2 separate regions of the Homo sapiens genome follow, and region 2 is linked to region 1. Evidence: promoter capture Hi-C in human tissues and cell types (Jung and others, 2019). All regions are on one chromosome and are shown on one strand. Each heading gives the region's core, a stretch centred on a gene start or on the middle of the fragment in contact. The rest is flanking DNA. Distances are from core to core; before and after follow the strand shown.

The links. Contacts are between HindIII fragments. The study calls those that stand out against the background at their distance.
Region 2: a contact is called between a fragment that was not itself captured here and the fragment with the promoter of DNAJB8 in region 1, in 2 of the 25 tissues and cell types used here (dorsolateral prefrontal cortex and stomach).

The regions. Positions count from the first base shown.
Region 1 is chr3:128,462,754-128,470,127 of GRCh38, forward strand. DNAJB8 (DnaJ heat shock protein family (Hsp40) member B8) reads right to left here and starts at 4,137. Exons shown (of 3, transcript NM_153330.6): 1 at 3,861-4,137; 2 at 2,523-2,683; 3 at 1-1,357. The coding sequence starts at 492. DNAJB8-AS1 (DNAJB8 antisense RNA 1) reads left to right here and starts at 841. Exons shown (of 3, transcript NR_037890.1): 1 at 841-974; 2 at 1,147-1,360. The HindIII fragment of the contact is 25,608 bases long and covers 1-7,374 here.
Region 2 is chr3:128,178,695-128,186,068 of GRCh38, forward strand. All of the region lies in intron 1 of EEFSEC (eukaryotic elongation factor, selenocysteine-tRNA specific), which reads left to right. Among named protein-coding and RNA genes, the nearest start is that of EEFSEC, 29 kb to the left of the region's middle. The HindIII fragment of the contact is 3,766 bases long and covers 1,218-4,983 here.

The DNA.
Region 1 (7,374 bases), core at 2,887-5,386:
GAAGGTGGTGTGGCTGCCCCCGCTGCAGCCCAGCATGTTGAAGGATGAGAAGGCCTCCATGAAGGCCGGAAATTCTCCAAAGCCTGCCGAGAAGGCCCCCCTCAGGCCATGGCCCCGGCCACCACGGTCACTATTGAATGGGCTGTCCCAGAACTCAAAGGAGAAAGGGTCCAGGCCACCAAAAAACTCCCGGAAGATGTCCTCAGGGTTACGGAAGGTGTAGCCGGTGTCGAAGGGGCTGTGGTAGGGCGTGCTGGCCCCGCCACCAGCCCGCCAGCTGTCACAGCCAGCACGGTCATACAGGGAGCGTTTCTTGGAGTCAGACAGAACCTCATAGGCCTCAGACACCAGCTTGAACTTCTTCTCCGCCTCCTCCTTATTGTCAGGGTTCTTGTCGGGGTGCCAACGAAGGGCCAGCTTGCGGTAGGCTTTCTTGATGTCCTCCGGGGAAGCGCTGGCCTGCACGCCCAGCACTTCGTAGTAGTTAGCCATGGCCAGGGGTGTGGGTGAGAGGAGAGGGAACGTGGAGGCCAGGTGGGCGCAGGGGCCCAGCTGGTCAGATGGACGGGGGAGAAGTGGCCGGTGGTCTGGGGCCCTTCAGCAGGGGCCTGGCTGGACTCCGCAAGCTCTAGGCAAGATTCTGCCCAGGAGTTCACCTTTTCGTAGTACCAATTCTCAGGGACTGGAGGGGCCCCCACTGAGAGGAGTGGGGGGAGGGGAGGGACACTGCCGCTGTGGGGCCAGGCCAGAGTGGGCTGCCCTCCAGAGCTCCTTTTATGACGTCAGCTCCCGGGGCGGGGCATACCCCCGCCCCCAGCTCCTCACCAGGCAAACCTGGGCATATGGGCCTGCCCCTGCTGGTGAGGTGGCCACAACGGTGTGTGGGAATGGGATGCTCTGTGACCCAGGTGGTGTGGGCTGAGTCCCGGGAGCCAAAGGGCAGAGGCAGGATCAGCCACGGGATTCCAGCCTTGGTGAGTGACAAAGGTCTGTGGCCGTGGTGGGGGAGGCGGGCAAGGGCGTCCTGGGTATGTCCACTCGGCCGATGGCTGGGCAGCAGCTGAGGCAAGAGGAGGCCAAGGTGGGGTTCAGGCAGGCTGGGGTGGGGACAAGAGCCTGCTTTTTTTGTGCCCATTATCTGGCCAGGTCTTCCGGGGTAAGCTCCACAAAGGCGGGAAAGTCTGTCCCTGTCTAGGACAGTGGCTGGCACACGAGGGCCGTCGGTAAACTCTTGGATGAACCAGGCTCAGAGACACACAGTGCTCAAGGTCACACAGCGAGTCAGTGAGGGAGGGGATGTGAAACCAGGGCCAAGGCTGCAGCGGACAGCAAATCCAAAGAAGTGTTCCACTCAATTCTGGTAAGAAAAATAGGAATTGATGATAAATATTGATTACTGACTGTAGTGGGTTGAATGGTGGCCCCCAAAAAGATATGTTCCTATCCTAATCCTTGGAACCTCTGAATGTGAGCTTATTTGGAAAAAGGATCTTTTCGGATGTAATTAAATTAAGGATGTCGAGATGAGATCATCCTGGATTATCTGAGTGGGCCCTAAATCCAGTGACACATGTCCGTATAGGAGATGGACACTGACGCAGCTGGAAGCTGGGGGCCAGGAGGGTTCTCCCTGCAGCCTCCAGAGGGAGTGCGGCCCCACTAACACCTCGATTTCAGACCTCTGGCCTCCAGAACTGGGGGAAGAGATTTCTTTTGTATTGAGCTACCCAGTTTGTAATAATTTGTAACAGCCCTAGAAAACGAATCAGGTGAGTGAGGTAACCAAATATTCTTAGGCATTTATATTCCTTTAATTCTTGTTCTGGTGTTGGATCATATATAGAAACAGCAATTCACAATACTGATTAATATCTGTTCCTACCTTCACCTCACCCCACTCCAATTAAGATCAAAACCATGCTAAACCACCTACTAACCACACCAATAAAGAGCCTAGATGTTTGGGTCACCAAGTCTTAACTAAAGATAGCCTTCCTGCCTGCCTTCTTTCCTTCCTCCCTTCCTCCCTCCCTCCTTCCCTCCTTCTTTCCCTTCCCTTCCCTTCCGTTCCCTGCCTTCCTTCCCTCCTCCCTCCCTCCCTTCCCCCTCCTTCCTTCATTTCCTCCTTCCTTCCTTCCTTCCTTCCTCCCTTTCTCCTTCCTTCCTTCTTTCTTTCCTTCCTCCCTCCCCTTCCCCCTTCTCCCTTCCCTCCCTTCTTCACTCCTGGCTTCTTTCCTTCCTCCTTCCTTCCTTCATTCCTCCCTTCTTCCTCCTCTTCCTTTTTCTAGTCTTCATCCCTTTCTATTATCCTCCCTCTCTCTCTTTTCTTTCAGTGCTCATGGGTGCTAGGTTTCAGGCTCCTAGCAGGGGACAGTGTGTGTTCTAACCAATCCCAAATGCCAGGAGGAATGGAGACAGACTGTAGAGACACTTTGTAAACCCAGCCTCCAGTGACCATCGCTGTCCCTCCATGCAGCTTATCAAAAGCACGACTCGCACCCCCATGCTGGGCATCCACCCACCTACACCTGCTGACACATGTGGCTTAGCAGAGGAGTTGAAGAGCAGAACTTCTCCACTGGATGTAGCTACAGATGAACCTGATTCTTTATCTCTGTGGCTGGATTTTTGTCACTATGTCTCGGTTAGCAGTTAGCACCTGCTGTCCCTTGCAGGCTTGTTCCTGGGGCGGGAGAAAGATGCTTGCCCTGCACAGTTCTCCATGATGGCGGTGGCAGTGGGAGAGGCACTGCTGTTGACTGTGTTGCTGGTGGGGAGAGGCACGGTGGGTGTCCATGGAGATGGATAAGGTGTCATTATATAGTAGAGGTGACCATGGGAGCAGTGTTGATGTGGAGGTAATGGTCATGGTGGGTGTGAGGGGGAGAGTAATTATGGGTGATGGTGGAGTTGATCATGATGATGGTGATGCTGGTGGTGACAGCAGCAAGGCTTGTGCTTGAGAGTAATTGATGATGGTAGTGGTGGTGGTGATGGTCATGCCAGAGGAGATGGTAACAGCGAGCCTTTGTTGTGGTTGGCAGTGATGGTGCAGGTATGATGAGGAGGTGATGGGAATGGCTCCTAGTGAGCCATTGGTGTGGTTGGCAGTGGTGACAGTAATGGTGATGATGAAGGTGAAGGTGGTGGAGGTAGCAGAGGTTGTATCTTGTTCGGCTATACCACAGTGACAGCTTCCACCTCTCAGTGGCTCACGACAAACATCTAGTTCCCCCCACTTCACTCACTGGTGCCTACAGGCAGCTGCCAGGGCCCCACCTCCCATAGCTTCTCACTGTGGGTCCCAGGCTGGAGAATCAGCTCTGACCTGCACACCCCTCTCTCATGACAGTGCCACTCAGAGACAGCAGGAACTTGGGCTGCCTCTGAAAGCTTCTGTTGGGCCATGATGTGTGGCAGTCTTGCTGCATCCCATGGTCAAGGCCAGTATCCATGGGGCAAAGAATGTTTCCTTCAGGAAGGTTCTGCAAATCTCAGGGCAATAGGAAGAGAGGCCTGAGATTCCCATGGGGAAGAGGGAGTGAGCAGTTCTCCAACATATGCCAGATGCTCAAGATGGGACTGACAGCGGGGCTGGTAACGATGGCTCTGCTGGGAGCAGTGTTGGTGCTGCTGGTGCCGGGGACACCCGTGGTGGTGATGGGATAGGAGGCAGGAATTGTGCTATTAATGGAGGATGGTGGTGAGGGTGGTTGTGGAAGAGGCAATGGTAGAGGGGGGTGCCGAGGGGTGAGAAGGACACAGTGGTGGACATGCTGGTGTGAGTGCCGATGGCGATGGTGATGGCACTGAGGTGTGGGGCTCTGTATTTTCTGTTGCTAACTTGGCATTACACCAACCTCTTCCATGGTCTCCTTGCATCCTGGAGAAATCTGAGGGATTTTCCAGAATCCCATCACCGGTATAATTCCAGACTAGAGCCTGCCAATACAAGGGATTTGGAGAGTGGAAAAGAGAGGCCGTTGCAGGCAGGTGACAATGGTGAGCTTTGCAACAGCTCGGGGCAATCTTCTGCGAAGACCCTGCTTCTGAGCCACAGGCTGAGGCATGGATGGGGAGCTTCCTGGAATACCGTGAGCTCCTCAGCAGCTCCCAGGCAAGCTCTAGAGAGCCGCTCACCTGGGAGCTGCAGGTGAGCATCTCGATTCCTTGTTCCCTGACCGCTGGTCCCAGACTGTTCAGGGTGCAGCGTGTAGTAAATGTCCTCCTCCTTGGTACACATTTGAGGGCTGTGTACTGTGAGGGTGATGGCGGCTCAGATGAAGGTGGTGGTTGTGATGGAGTTGGGTGTGAGGATAGCAGAGAGAAAGCAGATGGTGACATCAGGAAGGCATTGGAGGGGCAGTGGTGGTGGCAGTGATGATGGTGGCAGTCTAATTAGAGGCAGTGGTGGGTCTGGCTGAGGCAGACCCGGTGGTGGTGATGGTGGTGGTAGTAGAGGGGGCAATGACGGTGGTGATGGCAAAGGCGGTGTGAGTGGTTGATACTGGTGGCAGAGCTGATAAGGTGATGTCACAGATGGGATGGTGGGTGGAGATGGAGGTGGAGGAAGTGTGGTGACAGTGATGTGGTGGTGACACAATGCTGACACGGGTGGAGAGCACCGTGGTGACGGTGACAGAGATGATAGTGATAGTGGGGCTGGTGGCAGTGGTAGAGGAGATGGGGATGGGACGCTGGGGTGTTGATGGTGATGGTGACACTGCTGAGGGTGTTGGTGGCCTGACATTGTAAAGGTGAAGCCTGAAGTTTCCATGACGATGGAATCAGGACAGTGGAGGAGGGGTGGTGAAAACAATGTTAAGAGACAAAGGACCTAGTATGATGAGGCATCCAAGAATCCTGTGGCCGCCTCCCCGTCCTGGCCCTCCCTGCCTTGTTGGAGACCCTGGCTCTGGTCTGCGTTGTACTCCCAGGGGAAATTTCTTCCAGCCACTGCCCTGCTCCAACCCTTGTTCCTGGGATGGGTCTGTGGGAGTCAGCCAGGATGGAGACAGGGCTGGAGACCCCCTCACTGCCGCCCATTCAGGGCTGTCTTAGGGCACACAGAACAGACCACTCGGTAGGACTTACGGGAACAGGTGTGTCACCTGGGAGCAGGTCCCACACCTCACCATCAAGGGCATCCTGAGATGGAGGCCCCTGTGGGGAGCTCCCCATGAAGGGAGCTGTGGACCGTGGAGCCGGGCAGTGTGCAGAGGAGTTTCCCTTCTGCAAAGGGTTCAGGCTAGTCTCCTTCCACGCCAGTTTTTGGGGAGCCAGTGGGGAGCATCAGGGGCTCTGAGGCCTCCATAGGGCCTGCTGGAGGGACAGGGACACACAGGCATGAGCGCACACTTAGGCCCCACACGCTCCACCGTCAATTCTGTCAGGCCACCTCCCCTCTTCAAGCCTCTCTGTCCTCATTCACCAGTGGGTGCTTTTGGGGATTTGCCCTCTCTGGGGAGCCAGCCTAGGCTTCCTGGCCTCAGATGTCCCATGTCCCTCATCTCAGGCCCACCCTAAAGCCAACCCCGAGCCATGGCCAGGGAGAGAAGGACCTTCAGCGACCAAGCGAGGCCCAGAGAGGGCAGGGCACACCGAAGGTCACACAGCAGTACCAGGAAGGTCTCCCCCGGGCGAGCTGATGGAGCCGATTAAGCAGCCAATTGGTATTCGGAGCAGCCAGAGGCCCCTCTCTGTCTCTGTAATTAATGGAGTGGCTTTTTAAAAGGATTCTAATCACCCCCGATCCTATCTGCTTATCACTAGAGTTCCTAATTAGATGATCCTGGCAGTCACTCAGCTAATTCCCTCCAGCCCCCTGCAGGCCTGCCTGGCCTGGGCAGCCCACCCCACCCCCGGCCACCCTGGCCCGGCCAGATGGGCAGTTTGGGGCCTTCTCTCCCCTCAGGGCCCCTGGTCCTCTAACTGCATTAGCTCCAGGATGGATGGGCGACAGCGATGGATGGATGGACGGGCGGCTGGATGGACAGAGTGGCAGGCGAATGAAGGGGCTGAACGGTGGGCAGTCACAGAGTGGATGGGCGGATGGACAGACAGACGGGCCAAGGGGCAGATCCCACAGTGGGGAAGAGCTCAGCCTGTCAGGTGACACAGCCTGGGTTCCAACCCCAGCACTGCCACTCCCCAGCCATGTGTCCTTGGGGAAGTCAATAACCTGGCTGTGCCCCAGTGTCCTCATCTCATCTGTAAAAGGGAAGTAATGATGGTCCCCTCTCACAGGGTTACTGTGAGGAGCTCAGAATGGAGAAGGAGCTGTGTGTGCGTGTGCTGGCATCCTGGCAGTGTCGATAATGGGTGGGCAGAGACAGATGAAAGGGCAGCCTGCCTGGTGAGCCAGTGGAAGCCATGGTAGGCAGACAGGCCCATGGCAGGCTTACATGCAGATTGGTGGCCCATGGGGTGGGAAGGCGGTGGGCTACGCAACCGTAGAAGGGCCAGTGAGCTCACGTCCTCCCCAGTGGTGCCAGGGCGATCTCAGCTCTGCTCTCAGACCTCTTCAGGCAGCCTTCCTGCCCAGTCCTCCAAGCCAGTGATGACAGGTGCCCACTGGGTTGCCCAGATCCCTTCCCTGCCATCCCAACCCAGGTACATCCTTCCTGGTGGTGGCTCATGTGGTCTCTGGAGGCTCAGATCTAGCCCCAAGTAGGGGTTTACTGCCTGAGTGAAGGCATCATTTGCGGGGCCCTCTGAGTTCCAAGTTGCTTCAGCCAGTTAGGGCAGCTCCCCTCCTCCAGGGTCCCAGCACCCAGCCCCCCTGGCATACAGCAACCCTAGGCAGGGCTGTTACCCTGAGTTCCTCAGTTACTCGAAGCCTCCAGGAGGATCCAACCCCCAGAGCCTCTCCATTCACCCACGGGGCTCTGCAGTTTCCGGGGTGTGGCATTTCCGGGGTCTTTCTGGAAACAGTATAGAACAAAAAAGCCTGAAGTATCTTCCAGAGTAAAGGCGTGCATGCGTATGCACACATCTGTACCAGCAGATAGCCACCCATCTCCCCATACACACACCCATCAATCCACCCACCTAGCCACACACATACCCAGCTACCCACACACCCAGCCACTCACATACCCAGCCACTCACCCACCCAGCCACCCACATGCCTAGCCACCCACCCACCCAGCCACCCACACACCCAGCCACCCACCCACCCAGCCAGCCACTCACCCACCCAGCCACCCACACAGCCAGCCACCCAGCCACTCATACACCCAGCCACCCAGCCACCCACCCACCCAGCCACCCAGCCACCCATACACCCAGCCACCCAGCCACCCAGCCACCCATACACCCAGCCACCCAGCCACCCACACACCCAGCCATTCACACACCCAGCCACCCCCCCAC
Region 2 (7,374 bases), core at 1,851-4,350, 290 kb before region 1:
AACCCTAAATGAATTCAGATTGACTTCTTTTTCTGTACGGTCTATCAAAACCTTTTCACTTTACCACAGACCAGAAATTATTTCTCACTGTTTTCTGTGCCTTACTCCTTTAATCTCCAAATACCTGTTACTACTATTGTAATTGTTATTTTATTGTAACAGTTATTGTTGTTACTGCTATTGAACAAGCTTTGGATGTTTGGTTTGAAAAGATTCAATCAAGTATTTTGATTATGATGACTAGTGCCTGTGTATAGCTAAGCAGTGAAGCAATGCAGAGATTTTATAAATATTTTTAGGGCATTTTTTTACTGTGATTGTAGGGAGTAAGATATTTGTTTTTACAGGCTGGAAAGATTGCTGTGAATTTTAACACTTGGGAGTCACAGCTTTAATTCTGATTTAGTCTACTAAAATAAATAAAAATTAGCCGTTGATACTCTTTTAAATGAATGGAACCTATTTCTGATTCTGATTTTTCTGAAGCAGTCTCTACATTTCCCAAAGTGCCACTTCCCAAGGTGGACAAAACATGTTCTGTGCAGGCGAAATGTGAGATGCTGGCTGCATAGGGGAGGAAGGGGGAGAGGAAGCTGTTTGCAAAACTACTTAAAATAAATTTGAAGGGTCAAACATGGAACACAGTTGCAAAAGAGAAAGGAAAAAATGCCTTAGGTCAGTTCAGCTAGAATCGTGTAGGCATTCGCATTGGCTAGAGGGTTAGTTGTGTATTTCTTGCTAATCAGATACAATTGGAGCAGATAATATTTGAGTATCTGAGGCTAGATCTCATTGCCTCTATATCAGGGAAATGAACCAAAAGGGGCAAGTTTTAAAAGTTTGATTTGGGGAAACAGATACCATTTAGGAGAGAGATGGTAGGCTGTGTTTACCTCGTTGTCCGAAGGCTGCTCAGACTTTAGTCAGCTCTCCAACTTGCAGCTTGTCCCTCAGAGATGCAGTAGTGGCTTGGGCCGGCAGACGGGCTTGCGTTAGCATTTCATTTAAAAGCGATCGGTACTTTTAAATTAAACATGCAAAGTTATCTTGGTGAGGTATTGAATGGGAGGTTGCTGGATTATTGAATTTGGCCCAAAATTTAGCCAGTTCAGCAGGGATTTTGGGGTCTGAAGCAATTAATATGCAAGTACATTTGAGTCAGCAAGGTAGGAGATTACTGTCTTATCAGAGTAAAAAAAAAAATTCTTTTTCCAAGATCCATACTTTTTTGGAGGTAGATAAAAACTCCATTGTTTGAGATTCATGTTTGTGAGTGACCACCTCAAATTGCCAGGTTTTAACCACTAAAACACAGAGGAGGGAATAATTGCATTTAAAATCTCTGATCTGTTATTTGCATTATGCTTAGCATAGAGGAGACCCCAATTTCCTTCCTCATGTTTTTGGTTTTTTTTTGCCATTTTGTTAACATAGATTGAGAGGAAACTTAATTTTCTTTCTTGAAAAAATCATTCACTGAACTGCTCAAAACACATGAAGTTGTTTTTGTCTCATCAGATCGAGTACTTAAGACAAAACTACGAAGGACTTCAATATATGGTTAACCTCTCATGTGCTCTGTGAATCTAGACACACTCCATCCGAGTTGCTGTATGATTTCCTGACCATAATGACCTGGCCAGGGGAACAGCTATTCCTTTGACAACACCGTTTTTCTTCTTCTACACAGCCAGAACCCTTACACCTGTTTTCCCACCTGGCAGGCAGCATTCAGAGGCATGAGGTGTATTTTTATTGTGTGGCACTCAGCCACACAAGTGGCTGTGCAGTCTTGGGGAGAAGAGGTTACTTAACACAATTTCCTTGACTTTAAAATGGGGAAAGTAAGAATGTAAGACCTTAAAGAGTTGTGAGGATGGTGTGGAACAACAGCTGGAGGGAGCCAAAGGCAGTGAATTACAGATGTGCAGTGCCATTGAGTTGCAGCTTCCTCTGCCCTTGACTCAGTGCAAGAGACTCCAGGCCCTGCATCGATGGGACCAGGCAGGCCTGTGAAAGGAGCAGAGCAGCAGGTCCAGAGCCAGCAGAACCTGCGAGCTAGTGTGCCATTGAGGCCTGGGAATTGCTGCTTTACTCCAGAAGACAGGGAACCTGGTGGTACAGCAGGAAGGCATAGTCTTTGAAAATCAGATGTGACTTAAAAATGAATTTAAAAAAAGGGGGCTAATGAAGTCCTGAAGGCCTTTATTTCTGTATTTATTGTGGAGATCTTTTTCTTCTGAAAGCTTTGATTTGACCATCTGCCTCATTTCAGGAGTTTGGAGACCTCGGAAATTTGAGAGATCACTCCTGGGTAGCAAGTTGCCCTTTTGCCAGGGCCTCCTTGTCCCTTAGAAGCATCTAGCCTTGGCTGCTTCAGGGGGCACTTCAGGACATGGATGGGGACTGACCATGTCCTTTGGCAGGTGACGCAGGGAGTCAGCCTGGGCGTGAGTGGGTGTGTGGCTGGCTCCCTGGCAAAGAGCTGCCACAGTTTCCTAAGGGGCCCCATCTTTTCCATCCAGTGGGACAGCCTTTCTATTTCAGATGAAGGATAAAATACTTGGTAGAATAACTTTCATTGTTCCCATTCCCAAATCCTTTTCTGTGTGTGGAGAGCATTCTGAGTTTGTCTGTTTGTTTACTGTCCTCCCATCAAGACCTACAGCCTATGCCGACATTCTTCTAAGCAGATCACATGTGCTTGGCCCACAAGTGGGCATTCTGAACACTTTTTTGTGTTTTCAGCCATGGTCCTCTTTTCTCAAGGGATACTGCCAGTCTCCATCCTGATCCAGATTTAGAAACACAACAAAAACAAAAGAGAAGCGGTGATATAAAATGGAAGTAGAACTTGGCGTTGGCTAGTGGAGACGGCGATAAGGAGTTTTGAAGTGTCTCTCCTTTGAAAGGTCTTTCTTGTTGGATCACTGCTCCCCCAGTATGTCTGATCCTTATGCACAGCCCACCTGGGCTGGTGGGGGGCGGTCCTCATCACACTGAGGCTGGGTTTCTTTAACTTCAGAAATGTCCTGAGGAATAAGAAATGAAACATGAGCAATACAGGGTTAATGTTGTCAAGCCATGTTTGTTTTTGTTTTTGTTTTTCTTTGTTTCTTTTTGTTTGTTTGTTTTTTGATACGAAGTCTCGCTCTATTGCTCAGGCTGGAGTGCAATGGCACGATCTCAGCTCACTGGAACCTCCGCCTCCCGGGTTCAAGCGATTCTCCCACCTCAGGCTCCTGAGTAGCTGGGATTACAGGCATGTGCCACCATGCCCGGCTAATTTTTGTATTTTTAGTAGAGACGGGGTTTCACCATGTTGGCCAGGCTGGTCTTGGCTCCTGCCCTCAAGTGATCCGCCTGCCTTGGGCTCCCAAAGTGCCGGGATTACAGGCATGAGCCACTGTGCCTGGCCTATTTTTGTTTTCTTTGATGGGGCAAGGTACCCAGATTAAGTTTATAGACGACAGCTAATGATAATCAAGTTCCATGTTTGAGTGCCTATTAAATTATCTTGTGTAATGCCCCCGCACATCTGGGAGAAGAGTTTTGTTTTGGTTTTAGTTTTTTAAATAAATGAAGAAAAGGTGACTCAGACAGGTTAAGTAACTATCCAAAAAAAAAAAAAAAATTCTGTAGTAAGAAGGTGGTCAATCCAGGATTTTAAAAAAGTATTACATTTTGGATTAGGTTATATATGTACATGATAGAAAACTTAAATAATGTTAAAGGATATGCAGAGAAAAGTATGCCTTCCTTCTGTCTCTGTGTTTCAGTCTCCTTACACTCCCCGCACTGCCAACACACATCATCAGTTTTCATTTGTGAGCGTGTTTTGGAGATGGGTCCATATTACTTTATAATAGTTTCCCCTCATTCTTTGTATTGACAACATACTGTTCCACTCTCAGGATGACTTGTGCTATCTCGAACAGTAGTGTCTGGAAGGCCTTGGTTATTCTGTCTTTTATGGTTGTGTGTACATGTCACAGGGTCAGTTCCTAGAGACAGTGCCTGCTGGAACCTGGGTGTCCTCACACCCAGACCTGTGCAGTAGGGGTTAGGGTTGCTGCTCTTGCCTAGAAGGAGCCAGAGGGCTCCCACCAGCCCTGCTGCTAGCAGAGACCTGGCGACCACTGTGGCTTTGGCACTTGGCCTGCTTCCCACCAGCCACAGAGATCGGGGCGGGGGGGTGGGGTGGTTGGTCTAGTAGTGGGGGTGGGCGGGTTGCCAGAGAGAAGGAGCGGGAAGAGGCCTTTCTTTTCAATTTACCCTCTTTTTGTATGCCATAATCTTGTTTTTCTTTGGAATCCCGCTGATCCAGGCCTGAATTCTAGTTTTACCATTTTACTAGCTGAATGATCTTTGTCAACTTATTTAACCTTTCTGAACTTAAGGCTTACCATGAGTATTAAGGCTTACCATGAGTAAAAATGGTGCTCAGAATACCTACCTGTTAGAGTTGCTTCGAGAACATAGAATAAATATTACTGCTAGTACTTTATTGAGCTTTGACTATGTCAGGTACTTCCTAAACCCTTTAACCTGTGGTAATCTGATTTAATCCTGATAAACCTCTAATGAGTTAGACACTGTTCCTATCCTCTTATATGTGACTTGAAATCTAAAAATGTTAGTAAACATTTGACCCCAACCTGTTGGGCTCCCAAGCCCATGATCTTGACCACTAGGCTATGCTGCCTCCCATAAATGCAGCCAGAGTTGATTGTGTATACTCTATGTCTGTCTAATCATTGAATTCTACTTCTGGTGACACTTAAGCTCTTTTCCTGCACTTTAATGTTAGAGATCATCATTCTTCCTAAGGAAGGCTTTTGGAGCGTTGCTTCTTACGGTGCTTATTGGAAATGTGACCTGGAACAAGATGCATCATTTCTTTGCACCTCAGTTTCCATCTTTGTAAAACATTGATAGCAATACTTACCTTCTCATGGTATTGTGAGAACCGATGCGTGCAGGGCACCCTACATACTAACTGCCTGGTGGATAGCGGGTCCTCAGTTGATGTGTTGTTGTCTTTTTCTTCCTCATTTGGGTCATTCATAGACTACTGGAGAGATATTCGAGAATTCTTCAAGTGTTTGTAGAATGGCTTGACATAAGTTGCTTTCCATTCCTTATCTGTGTAAGGAGTGATGTTCTGGAGTATTAAATTGGGTGAGTGTGGGCACAGTTTGTGTTCTGAGGTTTAGTGTGACTGTGAAAACATGCTTTTTGCATTGCCTGAGAGGATACAATAGACCACCAGCAGGAACAGCAGTGCAGACCACTGAGCAGCTTTTTGTAGCCCTGGACCCAGTGTTCAGTGTTCCAGAGAGATGGTAAGAATAAAGGGAGAGGCATCGAAGCCAAACAATTCCTAGATTTGATTGATCTGGCCTTCCAGATACCCTCAAATTCCACCAACAACTACTTTTAGTGTTTTTTCCTATTTTCTTCCAAGTTAAAAAAAATTGTGATAACATATTCATAATATAAGATTTACCTTTTTGACTATATTTAAGTATACAGTTCAGTGGCATTAAGTACATGCATATTGTAGTGCAACCATCACTGCTATCCATCTCCAGAACCTTTTCATCTTCTCAAACTGCAACTCTGTATCCATTACACACTTACTCCTTATTTCCCCCTCCCACCAGCTCCTGGCCACCGCCATTCTATTCTCTCTGTGACTTGGACTACTAAGTGGAATCATACAGTATTTGCCCTTCTGTGACTGGTTTATTTCACTCGGCATAATGTTCTCAGAGTTCATACATGTTGTAGCATGTGTCAGAATTTCCTTTTTTAAGGCTGAATAATATTCCTTTGTATATATATTTTCCCATGTTTTAAAAGTATAGGGTAAGTATGTAAGTATCTATCAGTATATTTATTTATAGCCATCTCTGTAGTTCTGTATTTTGCTTTGGCTTAACGTGTATTTTTCAAGTTATTACTTAAATTTTGTGAGTATTGTTAGTGATACCATACTGTTCTGATTCTGTTTAAAATGAAGGACATTTTTTTTCCTTATCTCTTATAGAATGAACTAGCTGTATTACACTGTTTGCATATTTCTAGAATTGACATTTCCAAGGGACAGTTTAGAAATTCTCAATTGTATCACAAACTCTGCAGTGATTGTATTTTGCACCTTACCCAGACATGGTAAGAAATACAGGTCTGGCATGGCATGATGGCTCATGGCTGTAATCCCAGCATTTTGGGAGGCTGAAGCTAGAGATTGTTTGAGCCCAGGAGTTTGAGGCTACAGTGTGCTATGATTGTGTCACTGCACTCCAGCTTGGGTAACGGAGCGAGATCCTGAAAGAAGGAAAAAAACAAATACAAGTCTGCCATACCTTATCCATAAATTTGAAAATTCAAATAGCTCTGTAAACTGAAAGCAGTTTTTTGGAGTTTGGATGCAAAACCCCATCTGAACTGACTGAATCTTTTATTTTTCCCATTTAGTGTGAATATTTAATGTTTGATTATAGGGAATGGCCCCATCGCTGCTGGGGTATTATATAATGTATGATATATTTATGTATGTACAGAATTATCTTTTGGGGGGATAATTATTTTAATTTATTCATCATTTTATAACTTAATATTATGAAGCACTTCATATATACCTTCTTTTTACTAAGCAATAAAACAGACTTTTTCTGTGACATTAATTTATAATAGAATATTCTTTTGTGTGCAACCATATCATATTTTTTTAGAAACTTTTTTTTTTTCTTTTTTGAGACAGAGTTTCACTCTTATCACCCAGGCTGGAGTGCAATGACGTGAATTAAATGGAATTATATATACTTTATGACCTTTCGTGTCTGGCTTCTTTCACTTAGTGTAATATTTTCTTTTTTTGAAATAAGGTCTTGCTCTGTTGCTCAGGCTGGAGTGCAGTGGTATGATCATAGCTCACTGCAGCCTTGAACTCTTGGGCTCAAGCAATCCTCCTGCTTCAGCATCCCAAAGTGCTACGATTACAGGTGTTAGCTACCACGCCTGGCCAGTGTAATATTTCTAGATTCACCCATATTGTAGCCTGAGTCTCTACTTCATTCCTTTTTAAGACTGAATAATATTCCATGCCTGGATATACCACATTTAAAGAATCCATTCATTAGTTGATAGGCATTTGGATTGTTTTCACTTTTTGATTATTATGAATAATGCTACCATGAGGAGTCATGTACATGTTTTTGTGTAAACATACATTTCTGTTCTCCTGGGTATAAATATACCCAGGAATTGCTGGATCATATGGTAACTCTATGTTACCTTTATGAGGAACTGCCAAACTTTTTCACAGCTGGTACACCATTTTTCACTCTCACAGCAATGTATGAAGGT